2 separate regions of the Homo sapiens genome follow, and region 2 is linked to region 1. The links are contacts of gene promoters, found by promoter capture Hi-C in blood cells and fetal thymus (Javierre and others, 2016). All regions are on one chromosome and are shown on one strand. The core of a region is centred on a gene start or on the middle of the fragment in contact, and the rest is flanking DNA. Distances in the headings are between cores, read along the strand shown.

Evidence for each region. The method cuts DNA at HindIII sites, captures the fragments that hold promoters and counts their contacts. A CHiCAGO score of 5 or more calls a contact.
Region 2: a fragment that was not itself captured here is called in contact with the fragment with the promoter of MIR381HG in region 1 in 4 of 17 cell types (total CD8 T cells, megakaryocytes, erythroblasts and 1 more); the score reaches 6.4 in total CD8 T cells.

The regions. Positions count from the first base shown.
Region 1 is chr14:101,042,223-101,048,778 of GRCh38, reverse strand. MIR381HG (MIR381 host gene) reads right to left here and starts at 3,622. Exons shown (of 3, transcript NR_104192.1): 1 at 3,595-3,622. MIR1185-2 (microRNA 1185-2) reads right to left here and starts at 4,581; the gene lies at 4,496-4,581. It overlaps MIR381 (microRNA 381), which reads right to left and starts at 2,859; the gene lies at 2,785-2,859. MIR1185-1 (microRNA 1185-1) reads right to left here and starts at 5,802; the gene lies at 5,717-5,802. It also overlaps MIR487B, MIR539, MIR889 and MIR544A. RefSeq lists enhancers at 2,013-2,513, 2,514-3,014. The HindIII fragment of the contact is 10,476 bases long and covers 1-6,556 here.
Region 2 is chr14:101,629,382-101,635,785 of GRCh38, reverse strand. It overlaps LINC02320 (long intergenic non-protein coding RNA 2320), which reads left to right. Exons shown (of 6, transcript NR_184269.1): 2 at 298-470; 3 at 1,107-1,343; 4 at 2,671-2,880; 5 at 3,200-3,373; 6 at 6,382-6,404. Among named protein-coding and RNA genes, the nearest start is that of DIO3, 71 kb to the right of the region's middle. The HindIII fragment of the contact is 1,032 bases long and covers 3,756-4,787 here.

The sequences.
Region 1 (6,556 bases), core at 2,373-4,872:
CACTGTGAGTGTTGTCCACAGACCGGCGGTATTAGCATCACTTGAGAACTTGCTAAAAATGCAGAATCTTGGTCCCTGAATCAGAATCTGCTTTTTAACAAGATCCCTAGGTGATGAAAATCTTAGGAGCATTTTTAAAGTTTGAGAAACACTACTCTAGCCAACTATTCATATGCACACGCACACAAACACACACACACACACACACACACCCCAGAGGTGCTGTCGACCACAACGTCTTATTCCATGAGAGTCTGTCTAAGATGGGGTGGTTCCCAAGGAAGGCACGAAGCCATGCCACGTCCACCAAGAATAATCCAAATACCCAACAGGCAGCTGCTTAGGAGCTGCCAAAAAGTAGTAATAGTAACAGGAAATGTACGGAGTTTTTACTAATGTTTGCATTCCCTACAGGAAGTGTTTCATACTCAGAATGAAGGCTACAGATAGGAGAGGCTGGACCCAGGTTCCCCGGTCCACCATCTACCTAGAGAGAGGCTTGACCCCGGCATCTCTCCAAGGAATTCCTCGTGGCTAAGATTTAATAACAAGAAGAGAAAGAGAGATGAAATAATTGTGAACATCTTCCAATAAAAAGATATGGCACCAAGCCCCTAAATGGCATCTCCACCCCAAAGCTAGCATTTGTCCAAGGAAATCACACTGGTGGCTTGCATTCTGAGATCACTGGATTCATCATTATAAATCATCAACACAGTCACACTCCATGGTGGGGCAGGCACCAATGTCCCCTCACTGAAGTCAGCACTGTGCTTTCAAAAACTTCTGAAGCAAATTTGGATACTAAAACAATGGTTGTCCGATATTAATCATCATAAATATAGAGACCATACTACGGACAGCCATTCTTTAAGCACCAAAGAACTGTGCCATCAAGAAGAGCTGGGCATCTTCTCCAAAGTTGGTGTCTCTTCCAGAAAGTTCTTCTCAGGTAGTCCAAACAATGAGGATTAGCAGGTCAGCTTCACACATTGAGAGTCAAGCCCATGCCTGGGGGTCAGTCACACTCTTGGGCAGGGGAAGGGGGTCTGGCCCCAATGATCGGTCCCTAAGGTTTGCTTCATGTCCAAGAAGTGCCTCCAAGAAGCAGGATTTGATAAGTAGCTTGAATGCTGCGTCACCCACAACACACACCCATGGCCAATGCAAATCCCTGATAGCACCAAGGAGTCCCGTGGCCCCCTGCCAAGCGTGGCCCCGCCTCCAGGGTTCTGAGGTTAGGGCACAAGTGTCCCCACCACAAACCAACTGCATGCGCCCTCATCCCCACCCAGGCGTGAGCCCCTGGGAAGGGCTGATGCGTGCATCCCTTTACAGAACTTGTCATGGCGTCCAGGAAGTCTGCCGAGGCAAGATTTGATACTCAAAAAGAAATTGTCCTTGTATGATTCATCATAAATAAAGCGAACACACCAAGGATAATTTCTCCTCAAGTATGAAACAGCAGCACGGACCACCACCTCCAGGTCTTTGGCTCAAGGTTAGATGGTGACTGCTTCGTGGCAAACCCAGTCACACACTCGCTCATGCACACACACCACGCACACACAGGCATGCACAATGCATGCACCAAGTTTGACCTCTCTTTAAGCACCAGGGAAGCAAGATGCCATAGAATCCTCACTCAGCTTGGCATCCTCGCTCAAGACTCCTTCAAAGCGTAGATAGTGGCCGAGGTCAAGAACCCAGGGACTGTCTCTCTTAAGTGGAGCAAATGTTCTCGGCACCCCTGCTGACCCCCACTGCATGTGGCATTCTGTATCAAAAGCCACTGTGTGAATGGCTTAGCTGCCAAGCATCAAGAGCATCACTAGCCCCCATTGTAAACACCGTGTATGCTCTGGGCTTCCTAGTCCATTCCATACCCGATGAAGGACTTGACTTCCATGTTTTGACACTGTTCCAAAAACCCATGGAGAGATTTTAGTCATAAAACCACCACCACCACCACCACCACCACCACCAATGATAGTTTCACAGCACACAAGGGTCCTGGCTACCACCTACGAAGTGCCGACCACGGGGCTCTGCTCTGAGCCGTGTACAAGTCTTAACTCGTTCAGCCCCAGCAGCCCCAAGAAATGGACGCCAATGTGATTCCCCTTTGACATGTGAGACAATGGGCACAGCACGATGAGATCCTTGCCCAAGGTTGGACGGTTAGTAAATGTCAGAGGTGGGATCCAAACACAGGAAATCGAGCTCCAGAGTCTGCGCTCTTGATACTGAAAAAGTGGATGACCCTGTACGATTCGACATGAGCAAAACGAACAGGACAGGGATAACCACTCTCCAAGTACCAAAGGTTAGCACGGAAAAGAAAGCCACTGCCTTGGGTGGACTTGGTACGTCTTCAAGGCGCGGTCCTGGGGATGAATTAGATGCTGAGGGTTAGTGGACCGGGTCACATACCCCAAGCAGAACATGCACACTCACGGACCGAGTAACAGCAGGGACCACAAAGCCACTACCCCACACGAGCGCCACCCCAGCCATCGGCCCGGGCTGATGACTTCCCGCTCAGGAAGCAGGGACCCAGACCACACACATCGTGCATGCTTTTGGCCCCGCCCACACTGCACCAGGAGAGGGGATGTCCCAGAGGCCACTGCCTTCCCTAAAGTCATCCAGGTGCCCGTGAAGTCCTCTCTGTGAAGTGGGGACCCGTGAACGATTTGCCACACACAAAACGGATACACACGGTCATGCACACACATACCGCATCCCTTGCTGAGTGTGGACTGGGTCCAAGACAAGGTTTGATACTCACAGAGAGCTTGCCCTTGTATATTCCATGTCAATAAACCGAATATACAAAGGGCAACCTCGCTTTAAGTACCAAACAATAGCACTGGGCAGGTTCCTCACTATCATTCACGGGGCCGGCCTCCTCTCCCGGGGTTCATCCTGGCGGGGGAGGGGGTGGGAGATGCGGGATCAGCAGACCAGGTGGCAAACACCACCTGCCAGCTGTGTGCCCATAGGTCAGCTCTCCATCCCAAAGGGGCCAGGAAGGGGCAGACGCCAGTGCCCCTTCACCAGAATCAGCCTCTTTTCCAGGCATCACTCCAGATTAGAACTTGTTCCTGAAAAGGAGATCCACCCCACGGGCCTTCCTGGGCACACGCAGAGCTCAGCTTCTCACTTTCTATAGGAATTCCCTGGGGTGGGACCACCATCTCCTTCCCAGTGTGGGCACCTCTCCAGGAAGTTTTCCTAAGGATGCACTCAGCACCGAGGTCCCAGGCACTGGATGAATTTACACCTTAGACAAAGCAAAGGCCCTGTGGTCACCATCCCTTCATCCATCTCACAGAGCCGTTGACACCAGTGTCATTCTCCATGCCAGCCCTTGCCCCACCCCTGCCAGAGGCTGGCATCGTGGCCATGAAGCCATGCTAAGAAAGAGCACAGGGTCAACAGTAGTAAACCCCACGTACCCCCAAGTAACTGAGGAAGCAGACCCACAGCCCATTCCCCACAGTGGTCTCTCCTTCAAGAAGGGGAGAGGAGCGGGAGCCGCCTGGTCCAGGTGGCAGGTTATGTGACTCATTACCCAGGCGTGGTGCTCACCTCTCTTCAGCTGGACGTTCGCTTTCCTTGGGCTGAGGATGCTGCGAATGTCCTTCCTGAAGCTGGCTTCGGGTCCAGATGACCCCCATGGCAGTCGGGGTGTAAAAAGCCGGCAGTCACACGGCCCAAGGAGTGTCTCCACAAACACAGAACAAGAGTCCCATTCTCAGGCAGCCATCCTAGGTGTGAGCAGAAAGCCAGCAGTCAGAGACGGGGCACAGACATCGAGGCAGAAGCAGGCGCCCTCTGACCTCCCACATGCACGCACCTGGTGCGGGGCTGACAGCTCCCACGGCTCATCCCCAGCGCTGCCTTCATGGGCAATCACAAATGACAAATAGAAGCAAACCATTCTTACAGATTCAGCCTGGGGACTGCGAGCTGGATCATGAACACCCAAGCATCAAAAAAAAAAAGCGCTGATGAGCACACCTCAGCCCCTTCCCCAAGGTCAATACCACCTCCAGGAAGCCCTCCTGGGGCTGGCCTACCAGGCTCGAAAACAGCATAGACAGAGCCAGTGCTCCGTGGTCCACCATCACTGCTGTCTGTGTTCCCCTTGAAATGATCCAACATCCAGGTCCCCCTTCTAAGGCTGATGCTGGGAACAGGAAGCCTTCTGTGTATGACTTGGTACCAAGAAGAGGCAGATCAATGTGTGATTTATCCTTAAAAAAGCAAACCACCATTAAACTTGGAGCACACAAAAAGGTCCCTCCTCTCCCACTGCTTCCAGGGAGTCCACAGGAAGAACCAGCATAGAGGGCGAAGGCAGAACCCAGGGGCAGCGTCACAGCCAACCTCACGTTCCCGGACATGGAAGCCAGGCCATACCTGAGAGGGGCTGACATCCGAGGCTTTGTCCTGGAGACAAGCAGGGTATGAGTGTCTTCTCCGACAGTTTGATACGCAAATGAGAGTCTCCCCCTGTATATTCGCCATTAATCAAGTGAACATACAAAGGGTATCCTCTCTTTAAGTACCAAAGGGTGGCTCAAAGAGCAGGTGAGGACCATGCCGGGTCTTTGCCGGAGTGGACATCTCCTCCTGCGAGGCCTGAGACCAAGGGGGAGGGGCCCGGTGACAAGCCTCATCTGGCTGACCCTGGAGCTGGGCCTGCACCTTGCACATTGTGGCCTGGCCCCGAAAGGTGGCACATCCAGGACTCCCTGCAGGCGAGACTGGCTTCTAAACAAGGGAACAGGTAGGCATGACTATCAGTGTGCTCAGCATGCATGGGTGAACCTGCTTCAAATACCCACAAGCTACATGGACAATGGAACCATCACCTTTCTCCAAAGGGGCACAGGGTGTGAGGGCTCAGCCCGGCAAGACATGGAGTTATCAGAGAAGAAGGCATCTGCAGGCATTCTCAGAGCTGGAGAGCGCTGAGACAATGTCTCTCCTCTGAGGCTGGTTGTCCTAGAGATGACCAGATCCAAGAATGTGTCACCTGTACCTACCTCGAAACAAACAAAAAGAGGGCCCCAGCGTCAGACTCTAGCGACAAAGGAGTCCTGAAGACCAGACACACCTGCCCAAGGCACACTCAGGTGCAATCACTGGACAATGTGCTCCGAGGACTGGCCATTGGAGTCCAGCGACAGTCCCAGAGGGCACAGGCAGGCTCAGGGAGCTCCACCAGTAACTTGCCTTAGAACAACCTGACATCCATGTGCTTCCCTCAAGGCTGACACTCTCTCAAGGATGGAGACCACCAGGGAGTGGCAGGTCAGGGGAGTAGCAGGTGAGAAGCAGCATCAGCTCTGCGCTCCACCATCCACCACCCATTCGTGTGTCCGGAGAGGTGCGAGGTTAGTGCTGGACGCAGGAAGCCCTCTGGGTATGACTTGGTATGGAGAAGAGGCAGATCCATGTGATTTATCCTTAAAAAAAGCAAACCACCATTAAACTCAGTGCACACAAAAAGGACCCTCCTCTCCCACTGCCTCCAGGGAGTCCACAGGAAGAACCAGCACAGAGAGCGAAGGCAGAACCCAAGGGCTAGGATCACAGCCAAGCTCACGTTCCCAGACAGGGAAGCCAAGCCGTACCTGAGAGGGGCTGACATCCGAGGCTTTGTCCTGGAGACAGCAGGGTCTGAGCGTCTTCCTCGACAGAGTTTGATACGCAAATAAGAGTCTCCCCCTGTATATTCGCCATTAATCAAGTGAACATACAAAGGGTATCCTCTCTTCAAGTACCAAAGAGTGGCTCAAAGAGCAGGTGAGGACTATGCCGGGTCTTCGCCGGAGTGGACATCTCCTCCTGCGAGGCCTGAGACCAAGGGGGAGGGGCCAGGTGACAAGCCTCATCTGGCTGGCCCTGGAGCTGGGGCCTGCCATACAGTTGACTTTACTTCCCAGCATCTCTTCACGACAGGATTGGTTACCAAAAGACAGGCAATCCTGTACCATTTGAAATAATGTAAATGTAAAATGGCTGAAATCCCTTTAGGGCCTGCAAAAACACCCTGGGAGAAGAACCTCTGCCTCTGCCCAAAGCCACTGCCTCCAGGAAGCCCTCCTGGTGAACACTGGCTAAGGGAGGTTAGAAGATGCAGTCACATGCATCATTAAAGAAAAAAGAGAAACAGAAATCCAACGCACTCCGTTTGCAAATCACAAAGCAGCACTATGACAAGTGTCCCTTCTCCTGAATTTGGCATTGTATTCAGAAAGCCATCTGAGCAGTTAGTTGTTACTCAGAAGTATTCATCTAGGGCAAGATTCGTCAAAGGAAAATGAGATTCTCATGGGCCAACTCTCTCTGAATAAACACATGCTAACACCAGGAATCCAAGGGTCTTTCCATTGGCAAGAATCCCTAAAGGACACCAATGGACTAAGAGAGCAGTGGGGCTTAGAGGTCCCAGCAGCAAGTCCTGTAGCCACACTGGGTGCTCTGGGGCCTCCTTCCTGTGGACTGGCCTTCCCTCAAGTGGACAGTGAGGTCCAAAAGT
Region 2 (6,404 bases), core at 3,022-5,521, 590 kb before region 1:
CACATTTTTGGGGGTGTGGGTGGTTTAAGCAAATCCCAGGGATTGCCTGCTTACTCCTTCTAGGGCCAGGGAAGCTGGGCTGGAGGAAGCTGTCTGGGAGCCCAGGAGGCAAGCAGAAAACCGCCAGGACCGCCCCACGCTGGGGGAGCAGCAGGCACGGCCCCTACCAACACCCCCTGGCACCTCGCAAAGCTAGAGCCCGCCCGGTCCCCTCCCCGGAGCGCCCTGGTCTTTGGTTCGTATTCAGCACATCTTCAGAAACAGTGATAGAAAAATGCTGGTTTCTGACTCCACCAGCTCACGGAGGAGATGCCAGCTCACGGAGGAAAATCTGGAAGGTGTTGAAGCATAGACGCTGGAACATAAAATGACTCATGATCTCACTGGGAGAAGGGCTGGGAACATCGTGGGCTCTCTTCTCCCCGCGCTCCTCTCTCCGGGTCTCTGTTTCCCTCATTCCACGATGTTTAGTGAGTACCTGCAGAGGGGGCTTCCCGGGATGCAGGGCTCAGGGCAGGGGTGGGGGCGAGCGTGGGCGAGGCAGAGCGGGCGAGCGCGGGCTGGGAAGGGCGCCCCTGGCGGGCGGCCCGGGCATAAAGGCTTTTGAGCTGGCCTCGCGGGCAAGGCAGGAGGACTGCCTGGGGGAGGCGGCCATACGCCCACCCTAGAGGAAAGCGGCCACCAACGCTGAGGGTCCGGCCCCCACTGACCCTCTGAGACCGAGCCGCCTCGTGTACCAGCGAGGCCACCCGCGCACCTGGCTTGGGCTCCCAGCCCCGCGCCCCTCCACGTCGGAGGCGCAACACCTGTACCCGAGCCTCGGACTCTGAGAACGTCTGGCCTTTAGATAGGCCTCGCGCTCCCAGCGCTGGGGAGTCCTGCATCCCCTAACCGGTGTCTCTCCCGGATGCAATGGAGGTGAACCCCTGGGGTCTCGCGGATCCCGAGTTCAAAGCGACCACAGACTGCTCTGCTTCCAGGACATCCCCTTGGACACCCTCCTCCCCCGCCCAGGCAACCCAAAACCAGCATGTCCCCAGACACACTCCCCTAGACACACTCCGCAACGCCCCAGACCTGCTCCCCACTGAGTCCTCTGTATCCAGGAACCATCGGCGCACTACATCAGACTAGAGGTCTGGGGTCACCCGACCATCCCGCCACAAGCCCCTCCGAGGCATCACTGTGTCCAGATTTTGCAAACTGCACCTCCTGAAGGGGCTGGGGTCTGTCCACTTCGCCCCATCTGCCGTGGCAGCACTTCCTCCGTGGTTCGCACCCCCACAGCAGCCTCCTGGGAAGGCACCTCCCTGGGGCCCCTCTCAGTCCACGGTGTGGATATGGTGAGTTCTTAAACCATGAACTTCTGATTTCACAGCTCTGCTTGAAGCCTTCAATGTCAGGCTTCCTGTTGCTCTTAAGATAATGATCAAAACTCTCAACAAAGTTCCCCTGATAAATGCTCTCAACGTGCCCCCCACCACAGCATCCCTAACTGTAATGAATACATCATTGGTCCTCACGGCAGCGGATTAATCGTCTGTGAGTGTTGGTTTAATCTTTCTCTTCTGGAGTTTAGCTGTCACTGCCATATCCCCAGCACGGAGCACAATGACATGTTTATATGTAGAAAATTGAGCGAAAAATAAAAACAGCTAACATTTGGGTACTTATTATCTTCCAGGCAGCAAGCTATGCATTTTGCATATATTAGCAAATCCATGAGGCAGGTGCTGTCTTCATTGTACAGGTGAGGAGCCTGAAGCTCAGAGAGGTGAAGGAACATCCTCAAGGCCACGCTCTGAAATCAACAAAAGATACATCAGTTTATTGTGGGAAACATCAGAACATGCAGAGATATTAACAAAGAGAAGTCACTCAGAGATGACTGTCATTAACATTTTGGTGTATTTCTTCGTAGACATTTTCCTATGTCTCTGCATAGTAACATACTGTCCAGAGTGCTTGTAATCTGCTAGACGGTTTGATGAGACCAAGTTTTCATGGTATTAGCCACGGCAATATTTGTATTCATATTTTAGGGTATGGCTGAACTGAAATTTGCTTTTGCTCAACTCAGCCCCTCTTGTGAACATTAGGCACTTTGCACTTCACCTGCTGAAAACGTGGTAGTCATAAACACGCTGGTAGCTCAATCGTCCCACCTATCTTTACTATGTTATTCATTCCTAGCAGTGGGGCCTGGGTCAAAAGTTCTGCAGGGTTTTAAGGCTTTGGATCAGTGGTTCGGGATTGTCCTCTGGGACGGGCTGAGAAGCACACATGCCTGCCGGTGGTGACAAGCATTCCTTCCTAGTGCAGAGTCAGGTCTGCACCTGGCACCCCCTACCCATCCAGGTTGGGTCCCTGGCATTCAGTTATGTGGAACAGACCAGAAAAATTAAAAAAGAACCCCCTCCCGCATCTTCCCCGAAGGACCACTGGCCTGCTGTCTCTCCCCGCACTCCCCCACTGGAGTTCATACCCACTGAATCACGACCCCCTTGTGGCTAAGCCCTGGTGCGCCACCCTGCAAAATCAAAGGTGGTGTCTAGGCACAGAAATGGCTCCGTGACCTATGTCCCCTTTGTTCTAATCTAGAATCCAGCCAGGAGTATGCGTGTCAGAAGCCAGGGGTGATTGTGTTTTTTCTCCTTCCTCTTTCTTTAGGTCAGGAAGATTCCTGCAGCTGCTGAGTTAGTACTTTTAAGAAAGTACTGGATTCCCTCTCACAATGGGACTTTGATTTTTTTAAGAAAAAGGTTTCATAAGTTTTCAAATAACCTGGAGCAGTTGAGCAAACTTAATGTGCAGCGTGGTCCCTGCTGGCTGGGTTTGAGGGGCTGGGTCTCTCTGAGTGGATGCTGGTGAGGTGCAGAGGTGAGTGAAGGCTTATCCGGGAATGGAGGAGAAGGGGACAGCCTGGGGAATAAAAAAGAACTTTCCGTGAGACGCTGTACCTCAATGCTAGATAATGCCAGGCTGGGCTTTTGCTAGTCTTAAAAACTACATCACGCATGTTATAGGCAAAGGCCGGCAGCCCCTCCCAGGGAAAGCCCTTTGTTTGAGTCCATAGAGACCCCCTATTGCAAGGGCCCCTTTCGTGATTTTTGAGGGGTCTGCAGGAAAAGAGGGCAGAGGTCGTAGTTTGGGGATCGCTGGTGACCATGCACCAACTTTTTTGTTGTTTCCATCTCAGGAAGAAGAAAAGGTGCCTGAGGGCCTGTGTGGAAGGCCTGTCACACAGCACATCCTGGGAAATCTGTCCAGGAAGCAGCCAGGCGGGCATCAGCCAGGCGGGCATCAGCATCTTCACTGTGCAGATGAGAAACTGAGGCCGCAGAGGTGAAGGGACATGCCCAGGATCACTAAGGCAAGACGGGGGAAGAGCAGAGATCTTGGGCATGATCTCGGCTCACTGCAACCTCCACCTCCCAGGTTCAAGGGATTCTCCTGCTTCAGCCTCCCAAGGAGCTGGGATTACAGGTGCCCGCCACCACGCCCGGCTAATTTTTGTATGTTTAGTAGAGACAGGGTTTCACCATGTTGGCCAGGCTGGTCTCGAATTCCTGATCTCAAGTGATCCGCCTTGCTCTGTCCCTTAGGGACCTCAGCTTAGTGTTCCACACACTGGCAGATCGCCTCGTTCTTCTCAGGGCTCAGTGTTTTCCTGAGTCTGAACCACGATCTGGGTAGCCATCCCCTGGCGAGGACCATTCGGGGTTCCAGCAGTCACATGCCACGGTAAACAAGCTTCGTAAACATCCCACGACAAAGGTGGGAGAGAATCCCAGTAGGGACAATGACTACAGGTGGAATTGCTGGGAAAAAGTATGTCGGTTTTAAGTGTTGATAACTGGTCCTTTATTGGTCGTGGTCATTCATTCTTCTGCCAGGCGGGGCTGGTGTTCCTATATCCTCTCCTCACCAACAGAGCGTCTTATGTTTATTTGTTGGCAACGTGGCAGGTGAAACATGTACCCTGTCATTAAAAAAAATTATACTTGGCTGGGCACGGTGGCTCACACCTGTAATCCCAGAGCTTGGGAAGCTGAGGTGGGTGGATTGCTTGAGGCCCGGAGCTCGAGGCTAGCTTGGGCAGCACAACGAGACCCTGTTTCTACAAAAAATACAAAAATTAGTGGGGTGTAGTAGTGCACGCCTGTAGTCCCAGCTACTGGGGAGGCTGAGGTGGGAGGATCACTTGAGCCTGTCTCAGAACAAACAAACAAACAAACAAAAATAAGAAAAAAATACATAGTTTTAAAACAGTTTTAAACACATTTGGGAAAATATAGGCAGTAGAAATAGCAGTTGTGCTGTTAATGCCTCAGACAGGGCTGGGCTCGTAGTAGGTGCTCAATAAATATGTATTAAGTAAGTGAATAAGGAAGAAAATCCCATGGCTCTGCCAACAAGAAACACTTCTGTCAACATTTCACTGTGTTTGTTTTCCTGAGTATTTTTTCCTCTACATAATTTAGCTTTGTTTTCCATTCATTATGCTCACCCGTGCAGACACAGTTTTTAATCTTGTTTCTTTTTTTTCACTTCACGTTGTTGACATGTGTGTTTCTCTCTTCTAAGCAGCGTTTCAGCATCTCTATAAAACCCTCACAGGTATGTGAACCATAGATCATTTGAATCGTCTATTGTGCTTTTAGGCTGTTTTCAATTTTTCTTTTTATAAATGATGCAGCAGAGTATCTTTATGCAGAGACCGTTTCCATACTTCCCCCTGTGCAGAAGGAAAAGTAGGCAGAAGAAAGATTAACTTGGTCAAAGCTTTTAAAATCTGATTTAATACTTCTTAAGAATGATGCACCTTATGAAACAACTTTATATCTGTTGAAAAACCTAGTTCTTTTTTTAATATTGTTTTAAAAAATGACTTGTTCTGAACAATATCCTGTGCCTTTCAGAAGACAGCGACGGATATGAAAGGAGATTTGTTCTCTCCAAGCTCTTAGGAGGCGATCTGGCTCAGGAAACAGACACATCAGATCCGAGCATGTATCTGATGGTTGCTATGGGAACAAGTCATTTAACAGCCACTCAGCTAAAGCATTGATCAATAAGGAAGGGGGCAGGAGGGAAATAAATTAGTTGGTGTCTGAATAGCCCTGAGAGAGAGCAATAATGCGTCCCCTTCCCATGGCAGGGGCCCGGGCAGGAGGCAGGGGCGAAGTCTCGTCCATCCACGCTGGGATGTGTGGGGTAGGAGGGCAGAGGGGGCAGAGAACAGAATCATATTGGGGTGAGAAACCTGCTCCCCAAACCAGATATGGGGCAAGTGAGGCCTTAGACAAGGCTGGGGGCAGGGCTCCCAGGGATGGGGGCACGGCTGGTCCCGCTTCTCCACGCTCCTGTGATGTGCTTGCCGGGCCTGCTGGGATACCCTGTGGCACCCCATCGCTCTAGTGGGGAGTTCCGGTCTAGAGAGGAGCCGTGACTCCTTCCAGGCACATGGTCAACCCCACTTGTCTTCTGGGGGCTCCCAGCCTGGCAGGGGAGAAAGGCAAAGGCCCTCACGGGGTCGTTCATTGATTCATCCACAAATACTTCCTGAGCCTGTCTGAGGGACCATGCTCAGGCCTGGGCAGACAGCAGAGACCCAAGGAAAGAACAGAACTTGGGCTCTGGGGCCAAATCGTGGCTCGGCCACTTGGCAGGCTCTTCACCTGTAACGTGTTGAGAAAGTGACGTAAAGTCAGAGCCAGGAGTGGGCATCCTGAGTGCTCAGCTGCCATTGCTGGGACTCATAATCGCAAGGGAAGGCAGAGACAGAAGTGAGGGTTCCTAAGTGGAAGGTACTCATAAAGCCTTGGCTGAATACGTATGGCTGACACAGGGGTGTCTGTGTTTGCCACCAAAGGGTGGCCCTGGGCTGGGATTACACACGGAGAGAAGGCGGGAGGAAAGTCAGGGAGCCTCAGACCATTGGAGGCTGCATCTATTGACCTCTGATCCCCACAGGCATGGGTGTGGGTGTGGGTGTGGGTGTGGCTGGCTCAAGGGTCAGTGCCCACCAGAGAACTGGACCATAGATGAGCTGGACTTTTCCAACCCTGCCAGCCTGGGCCATCTCAAGGGTGCTATTGGTTGTGAGGGGAGGAGGCCCTCTTTTCTGAGTCCCTCCCCAGATGAGTGCAAGCTGGGACACATATACGAGAAGGATCCTAATAACATGCATGCCAAAATCCTGCTGTCCCAGCCTTTGGTTCCAGCAGTTTGACTTCTGGAAGTCTTTCCCAAGGAAATAACCTTGAACCCACGGTGTCTGCTGTAGCATTCTTCATAAGAGTGACTGCAAACAACCTCTAAGCCCCAAATCATGTATTGGTTAAAAAAATAATGATTCCTTTTCTTGCTTTAACTCAGGTGATCCCTAGAAACACAGCCAG